Regions from separate parts of the Homo sapiens genome. Here all the other regions are linked to region 2. Evidence: promoter capture Hi-C in 16 types of primary human blood cells and fetal thymus (Javierre and others, 2016). All regions are on one chromosome and are shown on one strand. The core of a region is centred on a gene start or on the middle of the fragment in contact, and the rest is flanking DNA. Distances in the headings are between cores, read along the strand shown. Region 1 overlaps ATP8B2 (ATPase phospholipid transporting 8B2). Region 2 holds the start of TDRD10 (tudor domain containing 10). Region 3 has its middle 4.1 kb from the start of AQP10.

What was found. The method cuts DNA at HindIII sites, captures the fragments that hold promoters and counts their contacts. A CHiCAGO score of 5 or more calls a contact.
Region 1: a contact is called between a fragment that was not itself captured here and the fragment with the promoter of TDRD10 in region 2, in 1 of 17 cell types (endothelial precursors). The highest score is 5.7, in endothelial precursors.
Region 3: a fragment that was not itself captured here is called in contact with the fragment with the promoter of TDRD10 in region 2 in 1 of 17 cell types (M2 macrophages); the score reaches 5.2 in M2 macrophages.

The regions. Positions count from the first base shown.
Region 1 is chr1:154,343,762-154,347,588 of GRCh38, reverse strand. ATP8B2 (ATPase phospholipid transporting 8B2) reads right to left here. Exons shown (of 28, transcript NM_001370597.1): 18 at 3,532-3,696; 19 at 3,335-3,446; 20 at 3,089-3,194; 21 at 2,804-2,948; 22 at 2,435-2,618; 23 at 2,044-2,267; 24 at 1,706-1,789; 25 at 1,113-1,358; 26 at 831-969. Among named protein-coding and RNA genes, the nearest start is that of ATP8B2, 20 kb to the right of the region's middle. The HindIII fragment of the contact is 2,775 bases long and covers 109-2,883 here.
Region 2 is chr1:154,500,320-154,504,280 of GRCh38, reverse strand. TDRD10 (tudor domain containing 10) reads right to left here and starts at 2,062. Exons shown (of 13, transcript NM_182499.4): 1 at 1,252-2,062. It overlaps SHE (Src homology 2 domain containing E), which reads left to right and starts at 1,869. Exons shown (of 6, transcript NM_001010846.3): 1 at 1,869-2,845. The coding sequence starts at 2,255. The HindIII fragment of the contact is 2,286 bases long and covers 986-3,271 here.
Region 3 is chr1:154,314,900-154,319,083 of GRCh38, reverse strand. No RefSeq gene overlaps it. Among named protein-coding and RNA genes, the nearest start is that of AQP10, 4.1 kb to the left of the region's middle. The HindIII fragment of the contact is 2,713 bases long and covers 1,234-3,946 here.

The DNA of each region.
Region 1 (3,827 bases), core at 247-2,746, 160 kb after region 2:
TCACCTGGTGACTGCTCTCACCTCCTAGTCTCCCATTTCCACCCTTGCCCCCTACACTTTATTATCCACGAAACTGTAAGAGCGGCCCTTTAAAAACATAAGTAAGCTTCTGGTATTTCTCTGCTCAAAGCCCTCCAATGGCTTCCTCTCACATTTAGATTAAAATTCAAAAACTCAAAGTTCTTCCTCTGACCCATAAGGGCTTAAATAATCCTGACTCATTCCACACCCCCACCCTCCAACTCATTTCCTCCACTCCTCCCCAGCTCCACGTGCAGAAGACCTCCTCCCAGGCCAGGGCTGAAGGCCTTTATATTGCTGTTTCCTCTTCCTGGATTGACAGTTCCCAGAGAGCCACATGGCAGGCTCCCTTTCCCTTTATTCAGATTTCTCTGTGCTAGCTGGGCACGGTGGCTCACACCTGTAATCCCAGCACTTTGGGAGGCCGAGGTGAGTGGATCACCTGAGGTCAGGAGTTCAAGACCAGCCTGGCCAACATGGTGAAACCCTATCTCTACTAAAAATACAAAAATTAGCCAGGCTTGGTGGCGTGTGCCTGTAATCCCAGCTACTCAGGAGGCTGAGGCATGAGAATCGCTTGAACCCGGGAGGCAGAGGCTGCAGTGAGTCGAAGGCTGCAGTGAGCCGAGATCGCACCACTGCACTCCAGCCTGGGCAAGACTCCTTCTCGAAAATAAATAAATAAATAAATAAAATAAACAGAATACTTGGCACATAAGAAATGTTGAATGTGCAGATTAGCTGATGGTCCTGTTAGTCCCAGAACAGCTGTGATTCCTCACCGATTCAAGGAGGCCACGGGGACTTACCCACAAACCGGAACTGGTTGGGAAACATGTCGAAGAGCCCATTGCTGTGCATGGCAAAGAGGATGGCAAAGTAAACAGCAAGGCTTCCCCAGATGAAGAAGTGGTTGATGGCCGTCCAGTAGCCTGTGTCGAGCCCAATCTGCAGAAAGTAGGCATAGTCAGGCAGGCGCACGCCCTAAAAGCCCCTTCCCCCAGAAACAGAACTGTGGTGCCCAGGGCAGCCCCAGGGACAGAAGGCTCACTCCTTCCAGAGAAGAGGGGAGTTCCTGGATGGCCTCATACCTGCACGCTAACCACAATGACCAAGGATGTGGCCACAGTGACTGCAAAGGACTGGTAGTCAGCCAGCTGAGTGCCATCATCCCGGGTGGCATCAGCAAACACCCCATAGGGAATGAAGAACATGAGCACGGAGGTGTAGATGCCCTGGGCGATGCAGATGAAGAACTCCCGCTTGTTGAAGAGAAGGTTCAGCTGGCCCGGCTCATACAGCTTAGGGTACTCCATGCTCCGCTGCTCGGGGACATCCTGTGTGGGAGGACCATGTAGCATAGGGGGCCTCAGAGGTTGCCGTTTTGACCCTGGATGACCAAGGGCAGACTCTGACTCTGTCCCTGCCTCCTCCTTTCCAAAGTCTTTGGCAGCTAGAACCAACCTCAAGCCAGCTACCCCCAGACTAACTTAGTTCAGCAACCCAAGAGAGTTCTAGATCAGCTGCAGCCAGGAGGGAGAACCAGCCACACCTTCCCCGGCTGAAAGAACTGCCTTCCCAGTGGCCACAGGAAATGGGCACAAGTGTCACACACCACGTCTATGTGACTCCTTCAAGCAGTGACCTTCCCCGCATCCCATCTGATCATCAAACTCCCCCATACCTGATCAAAGACCCCCATAGCCAGGACTGGCAGGGAGGTGTACACGATGTTATACAGGGTGATGAAATACTGGTCATAGACGGTCTGGAAGAGAACAGGGAGCAAGGGAGCATGCAACCTTTCTTTGCTACACATCAGGCACAGGAAGACAGCTGATGTCACATACAGAGAACCCTAAGAAATTTTCTGAGGCTCCTTCTCTCCTCCTTTAATAAGCATTTTTTAAGAGTATGTACCAGAAAATAGCTAGGCCCTGGGGGACTGAGTGATAAACAAGACAGAACCTCTGCCCTCAGGTTTACAGATTTGCACAACAGTGGACTGGGAACATTTATTACCTGGGCTGAGAAGCCACAGAAGAAGCCAAACCAGAAGTGGACCATGGTGAAAGCAAAGTTTTTGTAGAAGAAATAGCAAAGAAACTTGCACATTCGCAGGTAGGACCAGCGCCCATGCACCAGCAGGAGGCGCTGCAGGAACTTGAACTGGGAGAAGGAGTAATCGGAGGCCAAGACAGCCTGGATCCCTTCCTGCCCACTGATCCCCACACCAATGTGAGCCGCTGCAGAGACAAGAGATGACAAGAGGGTGAAGATGGCCACCGGCCACACACTTTAGAGCCTACCAAGTTACAACCCCCTTCCCGTCATTCTTCTGCAGTCCAGAGACCTCAGTGGGCCCCTCCCCAGCCTCAAGCCCAGCCTACACACCTGCACAGCCCACACTCACTTTTGATCATGCTGACATCATTGGCTCCGTCTCCAATGGCAAGCGTCACAGCCTTCTTGTACTTCTTGACCAGTTCTACCACCTGTGCCTTCTGCAAGGGGGTCACCCGGCAGCAGATGACAGCTTTGCAGGCACACGCTGTCTCCAGAAACTCCAGCTCCATGTCTGCCTCCAGTGCGTGGGCCTGGAGCACAGAGAAACCTGAGAGAGCCAGTCTTTCCAGGAGACACCTGGGAGTCTCAGCTCCTCCCAGTCCCCTTTGAGACCAGTCTTCTCTGAAATCAGGGGAAATTAGAACAAGATATAAAAGCCCTGGACAGAAGTGCTCACTGGAAAGATACTGCCCAAGCTAAGGATAGCGATGCCTACCAGGCTGTGACCATTTATGACCAGGGCGTACTCCCCAGCAACGGCCTCCAGGACAGAAGTTAGCTTGGAAGAAGAAAGCTTGTCCTGATAGGTGAAGCCGTTGCCTACGGAGCGGGATGAGTCCATCATCTTCTCCCGGGCTTTCCTGTCGAGGTGGAAATGATACGGTTGTGGTCTTCCAGAACGGCAGTGGGGAGCAGGGATTCAAGTCTAAATGGTCCAGAAACCCCCACCTGAGCCCTGGGCACAACGCACAGCACCGCCTCCCCTGGGCTTCTTGTTTACCTGAGCTCCTCCCGCACCTCCAGGACAGTATGGCCAGTGACTATGAAAACCTCAGTCATGTCATCCGTCAGCATCTTGCAGGAATAGCCGATGTTCACAGCCGTCTCTACCAAGAGAGAACGCAGGAGCTACGGACAGGCACCCAACAAGGTCAGCACACTTGCCTGCCTGATGTCCTCGGCTCCATGCAAGGGTCCAACAGGGCTACTGTCAGTTGCAACTGGCTCTGCCCTGCTGGGCTCTCACCTTGCTTGTCTCCGGTTAGCACCCAAATCTTGATGTTGGCCAGTGTCAGGAGGGCAATGGTCTCTGGAACCCCTTGCTGAAGTTTGTCCTCAATGGCCGTTGCACCCAGCAGCTGAAAATACCACAAGGATTCCTGGCACAAGAATTGCAGGCATGAGCCCTCCGTGCCCATCCTTGGCCCGTCCCGCAGCCCGTACCATCATGTTGTTCTCAACCTCCTCATAGATGCTAGCCAGCCTGTCCTCCCGGCTGTCCTGGGCCAGGCTGGCCTGGAGGCGTCGCTCAGCCCACTCCTCGTAGTACTCTTCATCCAGATCCTTGTAGGCCAGCACCAGGGTCCTCAGCCCTTCCCCTGCGTACTCCTGGAGGCAGAGTGGAAAGGCACACCTGGGTAAGTCTGGAGAGCTAATGGACAGCGTGAGGGCGACAATGAATAATCCTGCACTGTAGACTGGGTGTGTGCCACATTCCACAGTTAGGGACTGTCACCACA
Region 2 (3,961 bases), core at 813-3,312:
TATCCATCAACTGATGAATGAATAAAGTGCTGTATAGCAATACAATAGAATATTATTTGGCAATATAAAACGAATGTAGTAGTAATACATGCTATACGACCTGGATGAATCTGAAAAATGATGCTAAGGGAAAGAAGGCCACATATTGCATGATTCCACTTCTCTGAAAAGTCCTGACTAGACAAATCTATATAGACAGAAAGTAGATTAGTGGCTGTCTAGGACTGGGAAGGCGGAGAGGGAAATGAGGAGTGACTGCTAATTGACGGGAGATTTCTTTTGGGGGTGATGGAGATGTTCTAAAATTAGATTGTTGCGATGGTTGTACTGTAAACACACCAAATATACTGAAAACACTTGAGGTGCACACTTAAAACAGGTGAATTTTATGGTATGTGAATTATATCTCAATAAAGCTTTAAAAAAATGTCACTACGCATTTTCAAGAACGTCAGTATGAGCACGCATTTCTTCATTTTAGCTTTCCCACCTCACAAACCACCACCCACACAAATGAGGCCGTCCACAGTCGCCATCATTCTGTTTCCATTGTATATGAGGACTCAGTGTTGGTCAGCCCCTTCAGCACATTTAGTTTGCTAAACCAAAAGATTTCCGTTCAGTAAACTAAGTTTAAATTTCTTTTTTTAAACCAGAAAGGTGTTTTTTTGTTTGTTTGTTTTTTGTCTTTTTGAGACGGAGTCTCGCTCTGTCGCCCAGGCTGGAGTGCAGTGACTTGATCTCAGCTCACTGCAACCTGCGCCTCCCGGGTTCAAGCGATTCTCCTGCCTCAGCCTCCTGAGTAGCTGCAACCATAGGCGCGCACCACCACGCCCGGCTAATTTTTGTATTTTTAGTAGAGACCAGGTTTCACCATGTTGGCCAGGCTGGTCTCGAACTCTTGATCTCAGGTGATCTGCCCGCCTCGGCCTCCCAAAGTGCTGGGATTACAGTCGTGAGCCACCGCGCCCGGCCTCAGAAAGCTTTTAAAGGGCTTCGAAGGGAGGGAGGAATGGCAGAGGCGTCTTTTCCCTTAAAGTGGCCACAGTTCTGCACACGGCACTCCCCGCCCGCACAAATCCAGACTAGGAGGGCCGCTCCCAACCGGCGCGAGCGAGCGACGGCCCCGCGGGAACAGCGACCCCTTTCCCCCATCAGTCGGGACGAGGGCGTTTCCCATGGCTGCCTGCCGACGCCCCTCCCTCCCAACCCTCGCCTGGCATCCCGGGACCTGGGGCCGACAAGCCATACCTCGTCTCGCGGGCCACGCGCGTGCACCTGCGATCGCGACGCCCAGCCTTCGCGCCTTCTCCCTCCGCGCTCCGCCCCCTCTGAGCCCGGGGGCACGGGGCGGGGCTTGCCGGCAGCCAATCCCCGGCGGCCACGGCGGGAAGAGCCTCGCGCTGCCCAGGACCGTGTGCCACCGAAGAGTAACGGAACTAGCGCAGGAGCTGGCGACCGTTGTCCCTGCGCCCGGACCTCGGGCCGCAACCTCTGCCCTACCGCCAAAAATAACGTCTGCAGAAAGAGTGGAGTAGAGCGGAGTGGGTGGGCGAGGGGCTTCCTTCCCGGGGGTGAGCGGCGCACGTGACACTCCTGGGCGCGTGTGAAGGCAGCGCCCGGCCGAGACCGGCTCGGTGCAGACGCGGGCTGTCGGCGGCAGAAGGGGGCTCTCTGCTCAGTGGGGCGCGGCCGATCCGCACGTGCGGCCGCCGCCCCTTTCTCCAGAGCTCGCAGCCCGACCCGCCTCTGCCATGGCGCTCACCCCGCCGCCCCCAGCTCTGGGCAGGAGGTGGCGGGGCTGGGAGGCGCCAGCCGCGGAGGGGAGGGGCGCGCGGAGTTGATGGGCCGCTCGCCGTCCGTCCACCGTCTGTCGCTGCGCCGGGGATACTCCCGCCGCCTCCGCTCGGTCCTCTCTGGTCCCTGGGAGCGTGGGCTGGGCCGCAGGGGGCTTCCGTGGGCCTGGCCTCTCCCACCGCAGGAGGAAAGAGCAGGGGGAAGCCCCCGGCGCCCGCCGCCTCCGAGAGCCACGGTGTCCTCGGGCCGGGCAGGCGTTGAAGACGAGCCCGGGCGGGGCCCCCCGCGCGTCGTGCCTGTCGCCTGCCGTGTCCGGAGCAGAGGCTAGCGCCCGCCCGCTCGGCGCCCCGAGCCGTGAGAACCCCACCCTGCCGGGCGTGGGCGACGGCCGGCCGGGGGCGCACGGAGCAGCCGTCGCGGGGCCTCGCCGCGGCCTCCAGCGCCCCAGTCACGGGGAATGCAGTGGTCCCCGACCCCTGGCGCCTCTGCGTGTCTGGGCTGGGCTTCCTCGCTCGCCTGCTCCACGGCCCCGACGCTCCTGGGCCGAGCCGGCCGGGGCCCCCTCATGGCGGCCAAGTGGTTCAAGGAGTTCCCCCTGAACCTGAAGACCGTGTCGGAGCGGGCCAAGCCCGGGGGCGGCGGCGGCAAATTGCGCAAGAACTCGGAGGCGGGCGGCGCTGGGCCGGGTCCTGGCAAGGGCCGCAAGAACTCGGCGGCCGAGCTGGGGAGCGGCAGGGCCGGCGTCGGCCCCAAGGACAGCCGGCTGTCCCGCGACAGCCTGCAGGGTCTGATTCAGGCCGCCGCGGGCAAGGGCCGCAAAAACTCCCGGGCCACGGAGGAGGAGCCCCACCGGGGTGCAACCAAGAGCTCGGGCTGCAGCACCTACATCAACAGGCTCATCAAGGTGGACACTCAGGAGAAGAACGGGAAGAGCAACTACCCCAGCAGCAGTAGCTCCAGCTCCAGCTCCTCTTCCTCCGCGTCCTCTTCCCCTTCCTCCCTGGGGCCCGAGCTGGACAAGGGCAAGATTATTAAGCAGCAAGAGACGGTAAGAATACAGCCTCCCTTGGACCACCTCTCAGTCGAAGGGGAGCCCTGGGCGCCTGCTAAGCCCTAGGCTTCTTTAGACCTAAGAGGCAGTGAGGATAGGTTTCCTAAGGTCCTTTCTCCCTCCACCATTTGGGAATTCCTGACCATTTAAAATTCTTAGACTGTTTTTTAATTCTTGAAAAACTCTTATTTTAGAGGTGGGGAGTTTTGCAGAAATGTACTAGCCATTGAATTTTGTTAGCAGTTTAGAAGAGTCGTTGAATGAGATATTCCTGTTTGGTTACATTTGACCCCTTTATAGATGTGGTTCATTTTAATTTTGATATTCAGGGGAATTGCAAAGCTAGGCTTGTGTATGACTTTTATGCTTCTTGAGCATAAGGAATGGTAACCTCTCAAGTGTGTAGATATGCATTTCAAAGCTTCAGGAAATGGTTTAACCAACAGTCTTCTCCACTGATTTGGAAGTTCCATCATTTTCTGCGGTTCCACCGAGTAAAGGGCTCCTCGGAGGTTCAGCAAATCTCCAAGACTGCTGCCCTTTCATTCATTCCATGGGCATTTGTTGCGCAGCAGCCATATGAGGAAAGGAGCACAGGGCATTAAGGGCTGTGGAGGATACAGAATATGACAAGGAAATGCTCTCAAGGAAATTACAGATGAGAAGAGAGGGTGTTTCCTGCGACGGACACACTGGAGGTTTTCTGGGTGCTGTCCAATGTGGAAAAGTTAAGAAAAGGAGTGTGAACATAGGAAGGGACTCCCTCCATTCTTGCTGAGATGAGTTGGTCCGATCTGGTTGTTTTTATCTTCTCTCCGATGTGAAAGGGGGAGAGAGAAGAGCTCAAATCGAGATTTCAGACTCCGGTCCAGGCAATCACTTCCTAACATGCATGGGAGCTTTAATTTTCTCTTGCCCAGGCTTCAAACATGCTACCTCCCTGGTTGAAGTCAAGAGCCCATAACACATGCTGTGTATGTCTGCATTGGGCACTTCTGTTCATTCTTCCATTCATTTTTTCATGCTGTAAATACAGCATGCCCACCCTGAGCCAGGCACTGAGTGGAGAGCTGTGTAAAGATGGACGGGGACCCAGCTCATATGTTATTCAGT
Region 3 (4,184 bases), core at 1,341-3,840, 190 kb after region 2:
GATCACAAAGTCAGGAGATTGAGACCATCCTGGCTAACATGGTGAAACCCCGTCTCCATTAAAAATACAAAAAAATTAGCCGGGCATGGTGGTGGGCGCCTGTAGTCCCAGCTACTTGGGAGGCTGAGGCAGGAGAATGGCATGAACCCGGGAGGTGGAGGTTGCAGTGAGCCGAGATCGCACCACTGCACTCCAGCCTGGGTGACAGAACGAGACTCCGCCTCAAAAAAAAGAAAAAAAGAATTCAGGGCGAGTCCATAGAGTAAAGTGAAAGCAAGTTTATTAGGAAAGTAAAGGAATAAAACAATGGCTACTCCATAGACAGAGCAGCCCCGAGGGCTGCTGGTTGCCCATGTTTATGGTTGTTTCTTGATGATATGCTAAACAAGAGGTGGATTATTCATGCCTCCCCTTTTTAGACCATATAGGGTAACTTCCTGTCATTGTCATGGCATTTATAAACTGTCATGGCATGAGCCACCATGCCCGGCCATGACCTGTATCTTATGGCAACCTCCTATCTCATTCTGTAACTTAGAATGCTTTAACCATCTGGGAATGCAGCCCAGTAAGTCTCATTCTCATTTTACTCAGCTCTTGTTCAAAATAGACTTGCTCTGGTTCACGTGCCTCTGACATTTCCCCCCTTCCTTTTATAAGAGAAGCACTAATCCTAAGGGTTGCAGAGGGACGAAGGTCCATCTTCTGTAAGTTCTTCAGGATGAATAGGGGCGATGATATTTTTGCCTAACTCTTAGAATCTCTCATATTCGTGGTAGAGAGGAGCTCAGTTGGAAAGTGTTGGTATGGGCCAGGCGGGATGGCTCATGCCTGTAATCCCAACACTTTGGGAGGCTGAGGCAGGCGGATCACCTGAGGTCAGGAGTTCAGACCAGCCTGGCCAACATGGTGCAACACTGTCTCTACTAAAAAATACAAAAAAAATAGCCAGATGTGGTGGCGGGTGCCTGTAACCCTAGCTACTCAGGAGGCTGAGGCAGGAGAATCTCTTGAACCTGGGAGGCGGAGGTTGCAGTGAGCCAAGACTGTGCCATTGCACTCCAGCCTGAAAGAATGAAACTCCATCTGAAAGAAAAGAAAAGAAGGGAAGGGAAGGGAAGGGAAGAAAAAGCATTGGTATCTTGAGGGCCATTCATAACTCATGAGTTCTGACAAAAGGTGATACTCTGGAAGATTCATAAGTGTTCAGTTTAAGGAAACATTCAGTAAGCTTGTCCTCCATTCCTATACAAAGATTACAACAGCTATACATTCCACAACCATAAAGCAAAATAAGTAAAATTATCCCAAGTAAACTAAACTAGAAGGCTTTCCATGAACTGAGGAACTGTTGGAACCACGCTGATATGAGGTTGCTAGATGATTCCAGTACATGCCCAGAATTAGAATATTGATGCAGATTTTTACATTACCCATCCCTCTTGTTTCTTCTGAGCAGCAGTCAGAGGCCACTGGTTGGTTCACAGGACTAAGCAGGGTTAGCCTAAATTGCAGAAACAAACTTAAAGACAACTGATGAGACTGGAATTTAATAACAAGTGTATCATAGTTCTTGAAACATAATTTTTCTCTCTCCAGTTTCCCATTTTTATGAAAGACCATTTTTATGGTAAGACCAATGTGCTTTATTATACTTGGCCTGATGATTGTATAAAGTGCAGCAAGAATAATTATTTTTCACGTAGGCTTTTAAAATTGGCTTTGATGGAACTCTGTTCCATAGAAAGAATCTTGGATAAGACTTTTTAAAGCTGAGCCCTGCCATGGGTTTGTGCCCTCAAATACCTTTGAGTTGGGTAAATTCTTCCTCTCCTTTTGAGGTCCCCAGATAACTTGGGGCTCCTGGACCTTTTAGAAGGTGACATTCTTTACTTACCACAGGTCAGAAACCCTGTACAGGGACTGTGTAGGCAAGGTTATGAGCCCAGGTCGCTAAGTGGCTTTTATAGGCTTTACAAGTCAAGTTTGATTCCTTAATGGAAAGCACACCATTCCAGTCAAACCCTTCATAAAATAAACAATTTCTCCAATTGTGTCCTGTTGCAAAAGAAAACAGATTCTTATTACCCTTATGCAAATAACTGCATTGCCATAAATTAAGAATACACACAAATAATTTCCAAATTCTGGAGAAATCAAGTAGAGAGATGCATATACTCCAAATTTTGTTCACAGGAGTATACTTTACTCGATTATTAAAAGCTGTAAATATCTGAAAAGAAAAGTTGCCTTGACTCTAAAAAATAAAACAAAGGATCAGCAATGTTTTAAGCAAAGGCAAAAAGATTGCTTTAGTCTTCTTTAGTTTATGCAGTTAACTTTTGTTTGATATCTATGAACATTTCAGCTCCCCATGAGAGTTCTGAAAGTTGTTTCCTCTATTCTAATGTCACAATCTCCAAAGTTATCAGAAACCTGCATTTAAGTGCACCTGTTAAAGTCCTATGGCTGATTATAAACTACCTTCTAAAGAAGATCAAAACAAGACAACAATTGTCTGTGGATGATAAAAAGTCTTAGGGCCAGGTGCAGTGGTTCACATCTGTAATCCCAGCACTTTGGGAGGCGGAGGCAGGTGGAACATTTGAGGTCAGGAGTTTGAGACCAGCCTGGCCAACATGGTGAAACCCCGTCACCACCAAAAATCCAAAAATTAGCCGCATAGGGCAGGTGCCCATAATCCCAGCTACTCAGGAGGCTGAAGCAGAGGAAGTGCTTGAACCCAGGAGGCAGAGGTTGCAGTGAGCTGAGATCGTGCCACTGCACTCCAGCCTGGGTGACAGAGCAAGAATCTGTCTCAAAAAAAAAAAAAAAAAAGTCTTAGGACAGCCACTAGTAAAGCCACAATTAACTAGGAAATTTTGGTTACTTCTGTTGCATACAAAATTTTATGTAACAATTATTAATAACATACGCTAAGTCATATTAGAATTATAGGAATTTCTCATAATTTTGGAACATGTACCAATAACACATTTAATCTAATGCTCCAAAGTAGATAAACTGAACAATTTTTTTTGTTGTTGTTGTTTTTTGTTTTTTGGGTTTTTTTGTTTTTTTAAGACAGAGTCTCCCTCTGTTGCCCAGGCTGGAGTGCAATGGCATGATCTCGGCTCACTGCAACCTCTGCCTCCTGGGTTCAAGTGATTCTACTGCCTCAGCCTCCTGAGTAGCTGGAATTACAGGTGCGCACCACCATGCCTGGCTAATTTTTTGGTATTTTTAGTAGAGATGGGGTTTCACCATGTTGGCCAGGTTAGTCTTGAACTCCTGACCTTGTGATCTGCCTGCCTCAGCCTCCCAAAGTGCTGGAATTACAGGCGTGAGCTACTGCACCCAGCCTAAAATTGAACAATTTTTAATAGTCAAAGAAGCAGCTTATGACCTTAAAGAATTTAGCAAACTTAATATCTGACCTGTATAATTTAGACCAAATGTTTACATTTTTTTTTGTTTGTTTGTTTGTTTCTTTTTAGTCAGAGTCTCGCTCCATCACCCAGGCTGGAGTGCAGTCGCTCAATCTCGGCTCACTGCAGCCTCTGCCTCCCGGGTTCAAGCAATTCTCCTCCCTCAGCCTCCCAAGTAGCTGGGACTACAGGCTTGCACCACTACACCTAATTTTTGTATTTTTAGTAGAGATGGGGTTTCACCATGTTGGCCAGGCTGGTCTCGAAATCCTGAGCTCAAATGATCTGCCCGCCTTGGCCTCCCAAAGTGCTGAGATTACAAGCATGAGCCACCGCACCCGGACAAAATGTTTACATTTTTGAAGATTTTTTATTTTACCAATAATCTTTAAAACTGTATTTATTTCCCAAAGATTACTTAAGTCACATGAACTAAATAAAGGGTATTCCACTTTTTACTTTTCTGATAAAATGTTTGATTTAAGCAATTCTTATTGTTAAACCAATTAATTAAAGCTTTTCCATATATAAACATTACACACATAATACATATAAATACACAGACAGACAGAAGATAAGGATCATCCCCTAAACTGGGAATTGGACTTTAAACCAGGGCTGCCATTATGAAAAGAGAAAGCATGGCCACATGGTTACAAGGTCAAGCTGCTAAGGACATACAAGACAAGAAGGAGGCCGGGCATGGTGGCTCATGCCTGTAATCCCAGCACTTTGGGAGGCTGAGGTGGGCGGATC